3 separate regions of the Homo sapiens genome follow, and regions 2 and 3 are each linked to region 1. The links are contacts of gene promoters, found by promoter capture Hi-C in blood cells and fetal thymus (Javierre and others, 2016). All regions are on one chromosome and are shown on one strand. Each heading gives the region's core, a stretch centred on a gene start or on the middle of the fragment in contact. The rest is flanking DNA. Distances are from core to core; before and after follow the strand shown. Region 1 holds the start of CDK13 (cyclin dependent kinase 13). Region 2 holds the start of STK17A (serine/threonine kinase 17a). Region 3 holds the start of SEPTIN7-DT (SEPTIN7 divergent transcript).

Region 1 (4,035 bases), core at 1-2,500:
CTCCTTGGACGACTTAGTCCGGCTGCGGTGGGCCTTCGAGTCCCGGTCCTTGCGGCTGCTACTGCTGCTGGATGTGGCCGAAGCGCTTTTCCGGCGGCCGCCGCTGCTGCTGCTGCTGCCGCTCTTGGCGACCTCGGCCCGTTCCTCGCCGCTGTGGCTGTGGCGGCTGCGGGACTTGGAGGCCTCGCTGCCACCGCGCTGCCCATCCCGCCGCCGGTGCTCGCGGTGGCGCTCCTTGCTGCGGCCACTGCTGCTGCGGCGGTCCCGGCGGGGCCTGCGCTCCGACCCCTCCCCGCGCCGCTGGGTGCCGGAGGAGGAGGCCGGACTCCCGCCGCTGCCCCCCGTTCCCCCGGCAGCCGTCGCCGCCGTTGCCGCGCTGGCCCCCCCCAGCAGCAGCCCCTGCTCGGACTGGGAGCTCACATCCTCGTATTCCACCAGCGGGGTCACACCCCCGCCGCTACTAGCACCGCCACCGCCGTCCTGCTGCGGCTGGGGCAGCGAGAAGACCCGACGCTTCTCCGCCTCCTGCCCGGCGCGGGGCCCGCGACGCCGCTTCTGCCGCCCTCCTGCGCGCCTCTTGCCTCTCGCCAGCCGCTTGACCTCCAGAGGGGGGCCCGGGCTGAAGCAAGAGGAGGAGGCCGCGGCGGCGGCGGCTGCGGCGGCGGCCGTGCCGGGAGCAGCCAGGAAGAGCAGAGGCGGCGGGGGCGGCGGCGGTTGCAGGAGCTGCGGCTGCAGGAGCGGCAACAGCAGCGGCGGCTGCTGAGGGGACAGGAATCGCCTCCGCTTGCGGCGTTCCTCCAACTTCTTCTCCGCCCAGCTCAGGCCCCCGCCTCCCCCCAGCGCCGTGTCCGAGCTGCTCGGCATCGCCTAGAGCCAGCCGCAGAGCGCGGCGCGGGTGCGGCCTCCTCCCGGGTCAGATCCTGGCCATCTCCCCCGCCGGAAACGGGAGCGGCGGCGGAGGGACACCGAGCACCAGAGCCGGCCGGGAAAAGCGCCACGATAATCCGGGTCGGGACTCGGGTCCCTGGGTTCCAGGTCACAGTGGGGTACGCAGCAGCCTCCGGGCCCCAGGGAAGCAGGAATCCGGGCGGCGGAGCTCCCGATTGCGCTCGTCGTCCTATCCTCGGCAGCGAAAACACCAGATGCGCCGGGCGCTGACCTGCGGGGGAGTCCCGAGTCCTCCAAGTGCCCCCGGGGGTGGGGGAGCGGCCTTGGCCGCGCTCTCGGCTCGGGCAGCGCAACGCGGAAGTACCACCTTCGTCGCCGCTTCACTCCATCGCGCCCTGACGTTGGGTGCAAGTTCAGGGGAGGGGAGTGGGCGAGACAACAACACGCCTCCACCGCCTCCTCCTCGGCGTCGACGTCGTCCTCCTGTGGTGGCGGCGACACACCGCAGGCGCCTCGGAAGTGGCCTGGGCCTGACAACAACTCCCGGCCTAGGGCCTCGCGCACTCTGCGGCCCGCGGGGCTGGGCAGCGGGGCGGGGCGAGGCGGGGGCGACCGGGCTGCGGCTCTCGGTTGGGGCAGCGACTGTGCGGGGCTGGGCGGGGGGCTATTTCCGGGGAGATGGGGGCAGGGGCGTTTCTGAGTCTGTGGCGGTAGGTACGGGCCCTGACTTTCTTCTTCTTTCGCCGCCGCCGCCGCCGCCAGCAGAGGTGGCGGAGCTACCCCTTTCCTCCGCTCCCCCCCTCCACGAGGAGGCTCCTGGTGTGCGCGGCCTGCCCCGGCTCGCTCCTCCCCTTCCCTCTCCGCTCCTCGTCAGGAGGAGGGAGAGCAACGGGACTTGCTGGTTGGGCCCTAACCTCCACAACCCCTCCTTCTCGCCTCGCTCTTTCGGCTTTTCCCCTCAGCCCTGACGTACGACCGGGAGCGCGCCCGCAATTCACGCTCAGAGAAAGCCGAAGATGAGAGGTGGCCGGGGCAAGAGAGGCGGGAACAAAGTTACCGCGCACTGGCGTGCTCGCTCCCGCCAGGGGCCGGCAGGCCGCACCGGAAGTGGCATGATGTAGAAACCGCTCGGCTTCCGGCGAGGGTGGGACTCCGTGTGAAGAAGGGTTAAAGAAAGGAGAGGATTCGTGTGCCGCCCACTGCTGTTGCTTGAGACTCTGCCCGTGGTGGCGCGCCTGTCGTGCTTGTTGCTTGCGTCCAGCGCGCAGTGCCGGTTCCGGCTCTGCAGACGCCGCACTGCCTGCCTGTTGAGCGAAAGGTCACAGTGAGAACAAGTGTTTCTGGAGACTGCGAGGGAAATAATGCTGTTGGTGGCCTTCTGGAGTAGGCAGTTACCCCCCGTGTACCTTCAGTCAAGCCCTGGGAGTGGAACAGCTGCGAAAGGAGAGAAAACACCCCGCAAAACAGGGTGGAGATGGCGTTGGTTTAACTTGTCTCACGTACGCCAAAGTTCGAGGCCCCATTTTTTTTTTTTTTTTTTTTGAGACTGAGTTTCGCTCTCGTTGCCCAGGCTGGAGTGCAATGGTGCGATCTCGGCTCACCGCAACTTCCGCGAGGCCCCTTCTTATCCTAAAAAACACACTTGGGAATCACAGCTCAAGCTTCGGTAACACTATTTACTTTAAAATAAAAATTTTTAAAGCTTTAAATCAATACAGGAAATAAGTGGAATGTTAAAAGGAACTACTGAAAATTCCAAATTCTCAGGAGGCTTGAAATAAAAACATCTTGTGCGAATGAGGACTGCCCTCTTAGTACTTCACCCACTTTCACCTTCATATCTAAACCTTTGGGGTTGCCAAACATAGCCATATAGTGACCTCACATCTCATTTCTTGCCTTAGAATTGCCCTTCAGTTACAGACTAAGCACTCGGGATAATTAGATTAAAATGTAAATGGCTTATTGGCTTTTAGAATGGTTGGAAACGCAAGCTAACCCTGTGCAGTGGCACACGCCTGTAGTCCCAGCTACTCCGGAGGCTGAGGCAGGAGGATCTCTGGAGCTCAAGAGTTCGAGGCTGGAGTGAGCCATGACCGTGCCACAGCACCCCAGCCTGGCCAATCAGCAGGGCGAGGCCCTGCCTCTAATAAAAGAAAAAGCTAAGCCGTCTGTTCAATGACTAAATGTAGTAACCCCTTTGAAAATTCATTTGTTCAGATCATCAGTTGGTTTAGTTCTTAAACACTTGGTATCTATCCATCGTTAATACCTTAGTGTAAATTATTTTAATCAGTTTGACATCACAGTATCACAGACTGGCCTGATTTAAGCTAAGATCAGACTTCACTGACCGAGTACAAAGGATGTTGGTTTGCTGAAGGATAAAGGAGGAGGCAAAGGAATAGGTAATCTTAAAGTCAGAGCATTTCCCAGGAGGGCAGGCCTGGGTGGGCAACACCATGGGATGGGCATTGGGAAACTGAATAGAAAAATAGGGGGCAGGGTTCCTAAAACAAATTTCTGGTTGACAGTATTGTTGAGTGAAGGTCCTGTAGCCAGCCTCCTACCAAAGACTGTTTAGCAAGTGGCTTTTTCAGAAACATGTAGGATCAACTTGTTCCATCGTCCTACGTTAGATAGACTGGAATAACAGAACAAAGAGAGCAAATAAGAGGTTTAGCTTGCAGCTCCCCTCGTGTACAACCAGTTCCACTTGAGAATGTCATCTTCTATCATATATTTTCAAAGAAAACTTGATCCATAGTAAATGGATAATTCCCATGTGTAAGTGTATTAAATGGAGAAGAAGGGAAAAAAAGTAAATGGATAGTTCCCAATCCAGGGTGCAAACAAAAAACATGTACTAAAATATTTTTACTGTGGTTCTACCACCCACGTTTCCTCAAAGATTCTACCTTTGGTGGGGGAGGTTGAATGAACATTTTGAGCTCAAGATACCTGCCCACGTGGTTGGAAACACTAATAACTAATAGGATTCAAACTCCAAAAAATGGGAAGGACCTTTGAATTAGAAGCCGTCTGTTTCTATAAGCCTGTCTGCTTGCCTGAATATTAAAGAGATTTGAAATTCCCATTTACGACTATATTTTTGTTTATTACTGCTTGTGTGTGGGGGGGTGGGGA
Region 2 (3,833 bases), core at 182-2,681, 3.6 Mb before region 1:
TTACAACATGGTGCTATTTTGCAACCATGACAAATGCTGGCAATAATGCGAACATTTACTGAACGCCATGTGGCAAGCCCAGTGGTATGCGCTTGACAAGCATGGCATCTTCAGGCCACCTCTGAGGTAGGTACTGTCATCATTATACGATTTTACGGATGAGGAAAGTGAGGCTGGAGAGTCTAACCCCTCCAAAGGCAAACACAGCAAGAAGGGCACGAATATGAACTCAGGTCTGCCCCCAAAGCCAGAGTATTTAACAACTTCTTCAAACTGTTCTCAAGGAAGAGTCGCCAAACCCCACAAAAATCACTCGATCACCCCTCTTCAGCATACAAAATGTAAAGCATCCGAACAGCCTGCACCTGCAACTTTACAGACCAAGTTGTAAGCTCTCTCTACTCCCACAAAAAAAGGGTGGGCTAGCGTGGGGTGGGGGGAGAAGGCAAGAATCGGTTCCCAGCAAAGTAAAAAGCGAGAAAAGGGCCAAGCGCCCACGAAAGAAACCAATCTAAACTCGAAGCAAAGGGACCTAAATGCTTTAGAACTAAAACGGCAGAAAACCAACCAAGAAAACGAAAATGAATTCAGCAGAAGACCGACACAAGGTAACAGAGCGCCGGTGCAAAGGAAGCGGTCACAACGGATGCTGTATTTTATTAAAACCACACAGGCAGACCAAGAAAGTCGCAAGAGTTGAAGGAAAAATGCAAAGTCGGCTCCACAGACCTCTGGTTTTCAGACCCGCTGCTCGGGGTGAAAGGCAGAGCGCGGCCCGCACCTTCTCTCGTTAAATAGCCATTCGAAACGCCACAGAGAACGAAAGGGCTGAGGAAAGTGTCCGCGCCTCCGGGACCGCCATCGAGTTACCACCACTCGCTTGCTGGGCGCGGCGCGTGGAGGGGGCGCTGGTGCGACTCGGCTGCCCTACTTGCCGTCGGCACCCAAGTTTGTGCCAAGTCACAACGCGCGTTATCGGCAGCAGCAACGCCACTTCAGCCTCGCCGCCGCGGCGCCGGCACTTATCGGCGCCCACGTCCCGCCCCGCGCGTCCGGGAAGGTTCCGCGCCGGGCCCCGCCCGTCCTCACCTGCCCAGCTCCCGGCCCGGGCACAGGCTGTAGCCGTCCTGGAAGGGCTCGGTGCGCACCACGGCGCGTATCTCTGTCAGCAGCCCGCGGGCCTGGGGCGGCGGCGGCGGCCGGCACGGCCCGCTCAGACCCCGGCCTGCCCGGCCCGAGCCTGAGGTGGCGCCTGGGGAGGAGCCGCCGCTGCCTGGCTTCTCCAAAGGGATCATGGTGTTCAGGCCCGCTTCTTTCCTGGCCGCCTGTTCACTCCGAGCAGCCGGAGGGTCACGGACCCGCCCCCGGCTCCTAGTGCCGGTCCGCGGAGCCTTCAAACACCCGCTCTCCCCAGCGCGGCGCTCGGACTGCGGCAGGCAGACTACCGGTAGCTCGGGCCCGCCCCGCGCCCCGCGACCGGCCCCGCCCCCGTGACCGCCCCGCGCCTGCCCTGCACCCTGCTTCTGGCCCCGGCCAACCCCTCCCCACGTCCGCCCCGCGCCCGACCCCGCCCCGGCCTCACTCCGTGGCCGCCCGCCCCCTCGCTGAGCTCCCGCGGGGTCCTGAGCGCCCGATGCCTCACGCGCGCCCTCTGCAGCTCAGGGGGAGAAGGTGCAGCTTTCGGGACGGCCCGGAGGCTGGAGGCGACTCACAGCACCACCCTTTGGCCAGGACAGCCTACTGCGTTAGCAGAGTTGCGCACCTGTTGAGCGTCTGAGAGTCACAAAAGCTGACCTTCGGTTAATAAAAGGCATTTGAGCTGTAAGCGGGACTTCACGTGGTGAGGAGGGGAGGGGTCTGGAGGCACTTCGGTTAATAAAAGGCATTTGAGCTGTAAGCAGGACTTCACGTGGTGGGGAGGGGTGATGAGATCCTGATCTCCGTACACTGGGAGAGGGGTCTGGAGGCAGAGTTGTATAAATATTATTAACCCTGCACACCGGCCCTATGAAATAGACACTATTATATTGTCTGTAGTCGTCTCTATATTTACTTTCGAGGTCCTCTCATCCGGTCTTACGACTTTAATTACCATCTATATGCTCATGACTACAGAATTTGTATCTCTAGCTTCCAAATATTCCCTGAACTTCAGACTGGTGTATTTGACTATGCATTTGGCATCTCCACTTACATGTCAAATTAGCATCTCAGACTTAACATACACAAAAGTAAGTTGCTGATTGGTCTTCATGAATGCACTCCTACCCAGCTTTCCCCGTCTCAGTTTTCTTCATCTCCTTCCTTCTAGCTGTTCAGGCCAAAAATCTTGGGATGAGCATTGATTCCTCTCTCATGCTCATCTCCAGTTTGTCAGTAAACCCTCTTGTCTTTTCCTTCAAACTAGATGCGGCGTTTGATCACTTCTCTCTATTTCCACCTTACCACCATGGCCTGAGCCATCGTTATCTCTTACCTGGATTATTGTGATAGTTTACTAACTGGACCACCTGCTTCCATCCTTCTTTCTCCCTAATGTCGCATAGTTCATTTTCAAGGCAATGAGAGTGATCTTTTAAAAATCGAAACCAAATCACACCACTGCTCTACTCAGACTGTCTCAGTGGAGTTTTGCTTCTGGCACTGATATACTAGTTTATTTGTGTTCAATATTCTCACTAAGAAAAAATAGAAAAGTTGACAAAAGTTAAAAATTTCCTCTCCCAGCAAGGACTTGGATGACTGAAATCCTGGAAAGATAGGCAGCTCAGAAAGCCACCACTTTTCCCATGAGGTATTTGATGATTTTAAAGCCATGGCTGAAAGAGTGAGAAAGTAAGCAGAGCTTTCAGTCATCTCATGGGGTTGGGGAGACAAAAAAAAAATTGGAGTTTAGGACCTATTTATGATGAGGGGCTGGTAAGCAACTAGGCTTTCAGCTGGGACTCCGAAGAGCTATACCCTAGGGGTGTGGATGAACGGGAAATAGACCCAAGGGCTGAAAACCAGCTTCAAATGGCAACAGTAAATATTCTCTCTGGGGAAAAAAAGCATCATTCAGAGCAACACATTACCCATATAATATTTTATACACCATGTCTGAAACTTAATTTAAACAAAGGACACAGAATTGTCTTAAAAACTAAGGGAAAAAGAAAACAGAAATAAACACACAGAAGATCCAGATATTAAAGTTTAAAGACAGATTTTAAAATAATTCTGTTAAATATCTTCAAGAAATTAAATTGCAAGATAAAGAGTTTTCAGCAGAGAACTGGAAACTCCAAAGAAGAATACAATGGAATTTTGGAATTGGAGAAAAAAACACACTAACTAAAACTACTACAGAATTATGGGCTTAATAACAGATGAGATACAACTTAAGCAAGAATTAGTGAAGCTAATAAGCAAAACAAAATATGAAAAATGACATACAAGAGATATGAAAGAACTTTCTATAAAAGAGATAAGGTCTCAGAAAGGAGACTATGACACATGTGATATGTGGTAAAACATTCTAACACACACGTAATTGGAATATCAGGAAGAGAGGTGAGAGAAAAAAGGAAAAGAAGCAGTATTTGAAAAGATAACGGCTGGAAATTTTTTAAAACTAATGAACAACAATTCTCAGAGTCAAGAAACATTATGAACATAGAGCAGGATTTCAAGCAAAGAAAACCATGTCTAGGCACATTGTAAACTACTGAGAAACAAAATCAAAAAGAAAAGGTTTAAAATCAGCAAAGAAAACAGAGATATAATCTGCAAATGAGCAACAATAAAATTAAAAGCTTATTCTCAAAGAACCAATGGAAGCCTAAACACCTTCA
Region 3 (4,321 bases), core at 1,382-3,881, 4.1 Mb after region 1:
AACAACCAATTTTATCACAAACTTCTGAAATACAATCTTTTAACACTACCTTTCATGTATTATGTATGCATCAAATATCTCCAAACCAAAGCCTGCAACAAAAATTGTTAAGCTACATTAGAAAAAGACAATATCCTTTCTTTTTAAAGGATAAGAACTAATTAAAATCAACTTAACATTTCTGTTATTTGTTGTGAATTTGAATTCTGTAAGCCTAAGATGTGGTAAAATATGTATTTTTAATAACTGTGTTATGAAGACCTGGTTCCATCATGTTGTCCCATCATAGAATAAGACAATGCTACCATGCAAATCACCTATGTAGCTTCCACATTTATTTCATAGCTTCACTCAACTCTTATCTCCTTTAGTCCCACCCACTGAACAGCTGAATGAGATGAAAGATTGTTTACTGCTCTCCCGCCACGACCGTACCACCCCCCCATCACCACCCAACCACCCCTTACTCATTCCCTTGCAGTCTGAAGAAATAAAGAATCCAAGCAGCAATAGCTGACTTGGTCATTGTTTATATCCCCCCTTCAGTCTATCAGGATTCCATAAATTTCATCCCTACCTGTACACTTTTAAGTCTAAAATACTCTCCTCCCCATGTCTGCACATAAACTTTAGGGGGAAAAACTGACTATACTCATCACCTGCATGTGCATAAATATGTAAAACAGGTTAGATGCTTAGTAATTTAGATGATCTGTTCATTTACATTCTCAGGGGCACTAACAAAGATATTTTTTCCTTTCATCAAAATAAAAAAGCCAGAAGAAAGAATTCTTAAAGCTGAACTATTTAGCAATAAACTCAAGAAATGTAGTAAGTTATTATTTCAGTAACTAAGAAAACACCTGGACGTCACAAATTCTTTCCTAGGACTGTAAAAACCCAAATTTGAAACAGTGTACTCTTCAAAAGTAACTCAGCAAATGGAAATGTCCTAGAAAAATCTCGGTTGCTTATTTCTTACTATACACACAGCTGAAATGGAACTCAGGAGTGGAAAATGTAAATGAAATGGCCTGTTCTTTTTCCAACATGTGGGGGAGGAAAGGAAATGAAAGGGCTCGTTAAGAGAATAACTGAGAATATTGAAATATTTTCAAAAATTAATTTCCCTAAACTTCGCCACTCCACATCTCCGCTCCCTCCCTTTTCCAAGGACCCTTCCCACCCTTTCTATCTCCTCCGGGGGGCGCCCTTCCCAGGCGTTCTCTTTCCCTTACTCCTAAAAATTAAGCCCAAATTCCAAACCAAACTACCGATTCTCCCTCCGTTCTCAAGACTCGCCCGCCATCCACCGGCCTTCCGGGCTGCGCCTGGAGAGAGGCAACCCCGAGAGGCGGGAGGAGGAGCGGGGAGGCGACGCGGTGACTGGAGCTGCGGCTGCAGCCGCCGCCGCCGCCTCCACCACAGCCTCAGCCTGGTGCATCCTTCTTCCTCCCTCCCCGCCGCCGCCCGCCCGGGTTGGCCCACACAGCACCCTCGCCCGAGCGTTCACACTCGTCCCCACCCTCCTAGCCAGGCCCACTGCCCCACGAGGGGACTTCTGCCGACGGGGATGCGGCCGGGGACAGGAGGAAGCGGGGCCGCGGAAGCCGGCGGGCCCGGGAGGAGACTGAGGAAAGGCGAAGGGACGGAGAGAAGCAAGGGCAGGGCTGAGACCACCACGCTCAGGCTGCTCCGGCCGCGGAGGCCGCGGCTCTGCGCCGGGGGCCAGCCCGCCGCGGCACAGGAAATGCCGCCGCCTCGGCTCTCCTCACGTTCAATTCAAACTGTCACCGCCGCCGCCTCCCCTCCCCCCGAGCCCGCCGCTGCCGCGCCCCGGGCCCGCAGTGGCCCCCATCCCGGCTCCCCTCGCCGCTGCCTCCGCCTCGCCTCAGGGCGTTCCCTAGCTCGGTCCAGCGGCCGCAGAGCTTCCCGGCATTCGGAGCCGCTGACCCCAAGTCGCGGCACCCGAAGCTGAGACTCACCCATGGTGCTGCTGTTGACGCTCCTCTCCTCAGCAGCAGCGGATCTCGCACTGACCGACATCCCCTCCCCCCCTCCGCGACCAGCCCCAGCGGAGCGCAGCCCGCCGATTCTCCAAAGGCGCCTACGCCGATTCCGCAGCGTAGCCGCCCGGCGTAGCTGCCTTGCTTACGCACGCTACAGCAGGCGGACTCCTCCACAGGCTCTCGCTCGACTCCCGCTCCCTCCTCCGTCCCCCGCCCCCTCAGACGAGGCTTCCGGGCCTAGCGGAGGCTGGCTTCCATCTCGCGAGATTACCGCCTCCCCAGCTCCGCCGCCTCGCTCCATTTCGAGCATGACTTCATTGGCGTCAGCAACGTTTTGCTGTTCGGGTTTAGCCGCCATGTTTAAGTTGGCCGGGTTTCGCACCACTGAGGTCATGGATACTCAGGCCTCTTTGCGTGTTTCTTCAACACTGCTTCTAAGGTTAACCGCGTTACATTTGTTGGAGAAAATCCTGGGAACGCTGAAAAGGACTAGTGGGTGGGGTGCGAGGGTGGGGTCTTGCCCGAATTAAAGATGGCCGCAGTCAGCTCTGCCCCGCGCAATTTCACGTCAAGTTTTGGAGCTGCGGGAGCCGGCCAGTTGGCCTCAGCGCCTCCTTACGGAATTGGCGTAAGGCAAAGAGGCGCGGCTGGAAGAACCAGACTGAGAAAGTGCCACAGGGCGGGGGCCGCATCCGCCCCTCGGCTTCTGGTTACTGACCCGACGGCTTTGTGAGTGAAAGTGAAGAGACACTTCGAGGCAGGTGTCTGTGCTCCCCATTCATCCCTGTTTCCGTGGCTATCTTGACTTTCGGGGTGAAAAGTGAGGTTAGGCCCTGTTTCCCCGACCCTTCCCTCGCGCCATCACACTCTAGTGGCCTGGCACAGCCCCAGAGGTCGGCCGCTGTAGCCCCCATTGCGGACTCGCCACATTCATATTGGCTCACCTTGTCGGTGCCCGGTTCGGTCCTCTTGGAGCTCACACTCCAGTTGAGGAAATGAATGGACACAGGAACTACTGGGTAACAAAATACTAATAAAGGGCTGCGATTGTGTGAGTTTCTACTGTAGCGATGAATGTCGCTGTCATTGGAACGTTCCCCAAGTGCCTTCTAGTGAAAGCCTTACTTCACTCGGAATAACCTGTGGTCTTTTCTTGAACGTGATGGCTCTCTTGGTTGTATTCTTCATGCACATGTGTTACTTTTCCTGTTTAACTACATGTTAAAGAAATGTGTATGTTCCTGTTTAACTGCATGTTTTAAAAAAGTATGTGTATTTTTAAGTTATAGGCACGTGCAAGAAAGTTCAGAGCAAAATAGCTTATATTAGTGAAACAATAAATGTCTACTAATAGGAGAATGGATGAATAAGTGTCATTGTTGAACAAATTGACATACAACACGAACCAAAAAATCAGTGAACTAAAGCTACCATTTTTCATATGGATAGAGTCATTAACCTAATATTGAGGAAGAAATGAAAAGACAGGTTGCGGAAAGATATATATGACATACCATAAATAAAAGTTTAATAATTACAAAAAAGTAAGATCAAACTAAAAATTGTATAAGGAAATGATAGATACCAAATTCAGAATACTGGTTGCTTCCAGAGATGAACAGAAGGGAATGTAACAAGAAGGGTTCATTTGTATCTATAACGTTTGTTTTCTACCAGAAATATCTTGAAAATGTGGCAAAACATTAAGCTAAGTAGAGGGCACATGGGTGTTCACTTGTAATTATTTCCTTTACTGTTCTATATACTTGAAATATTTCCAAGTAATTTTTTTTAAGAAAAGAAACTTATAGAAGCAACTTATTTTGTATCTTGATATATGCCATTTCGTAAGTCTACATTTTTACTGAACTGCTTATGAAGTCTGTTGCAACTTATCTGTTCAATCATTGTTTTAAGTTTCTGAAACTTCAAATGAACTTTTACTTTGGGAAATTTTGTTGAATTTCTATTTTTGAAAAAAAGCAGTGTACCAAGGAGGGTAAATGTATATAGCCTCCGGAGTCAGACTGCCTGAGTTCAAATCCCAGCTCTCCATTTATTAGGCTTGCAACCAAGAACAAGTTACTTAAACTTTCCTGTGATCCAGTTTCCTCATCTATAAACGGAGATAATACTTATCTAACAGGATTTTGATAAGAGTTAAATAGACTAATACATGAACACGGTGCTTAGTCAATGCTTAGTAAATATTACCTAAATATAGATTATTTTAAAATATAAAATTAAAGCAAATACTTATATTAATATAACCTAATAGTCTAAAGGAAGTAAATCTTTGCCTCCCATCTCTA

What was found. The method cuts DNA at HindIII sites, captures the fragments that hold promoters and counts their contacts. A CHiCAGO score of 5 or more calls a contact.
Region 2: a contact is called between the fragment with the promoter of STK17A here and the fragment with the promoter of CDK13 in region 1, in 1 of 17 cell types (total B cells). The highest score is 5.2, in total B cells.
Region 3: a contact is called between the fragment with the promoter of SEPTIN7-DT here and the fragment with the promoter of CDK13 in region 1, in 3 of 17 cell types (naive CD8 T cells, total CD4 T cells and fetal thymus). The highest score is 7.0, in naive CD8 T cells.

The regions. Positions count from the first base shown.
Region 1 is chr7:39,947,471-39,951,505 of GRCh38, reverse strand. CDK13 (cyclin dependent kinase 13) reads right to left here and starts at 1,250. Exons shown (of 14, transcript NM_003718.5): 1 at 1-1,250. The coding sequence starts at 864. CDK13-DT (CDK13 divergent transcript) reads left to right here and starts at 2,087. Exons shown (of 1, transcript NR_158201.1): 1 at 2,087-3,985. RefSeq lists enhancers at 1-42, 1,183-1,462, 963-1,881, 1,933-2,182, 2,253-2,382 and 3 more and silencers at 253-312, 383-672, 1,463-1,692. The HindIII fragment of the contact is 3,453 bases long and covers 1-2,551 here.
Region 2 is chr7:43,580,706-43,584,538 of GRCh38, reverse strand. It overlaps STK17A (serine/threonine kinase 17a), which reads right to left and starts at 1,431. Exons shown (of 7, transcript NM_004760.3): 1 at 1,090-1,431. The coding sequence starts at 1,295. RefSeq lists enhancers at 342-451, 582-631 and a silencer at 1,032-1,811. The HindIII fragment of the contact is 5,737 bases long and covers 1-3,796 here.
Region 3 is chr7:35,798,935-35,803,255 of GRCh38, reverse strand. It overlaps SEPTIN7-DT (SEPTIN7 divergent transcript), which reads left to right and starts at 2,631. Exons shown (of 5, transcript NR_120512.1): 1 at 2,631-2,766. It overlaps SEPTIN7 (septin 7), which reads right to left and starts at 2,199. Exons shown (of 14, transcript NM_001788.6): 1 at 1,986-2,199. The coding sequence starts at 2,046. RefSeq lists silencers at 1,288-1,737, 1,768-2,007 and enhancers at 2,158-2,547, 2,162-2,785, 2,908-2,967. The HindIII fragment of the contact is 5,766 bases long and covers 1-4,321 here.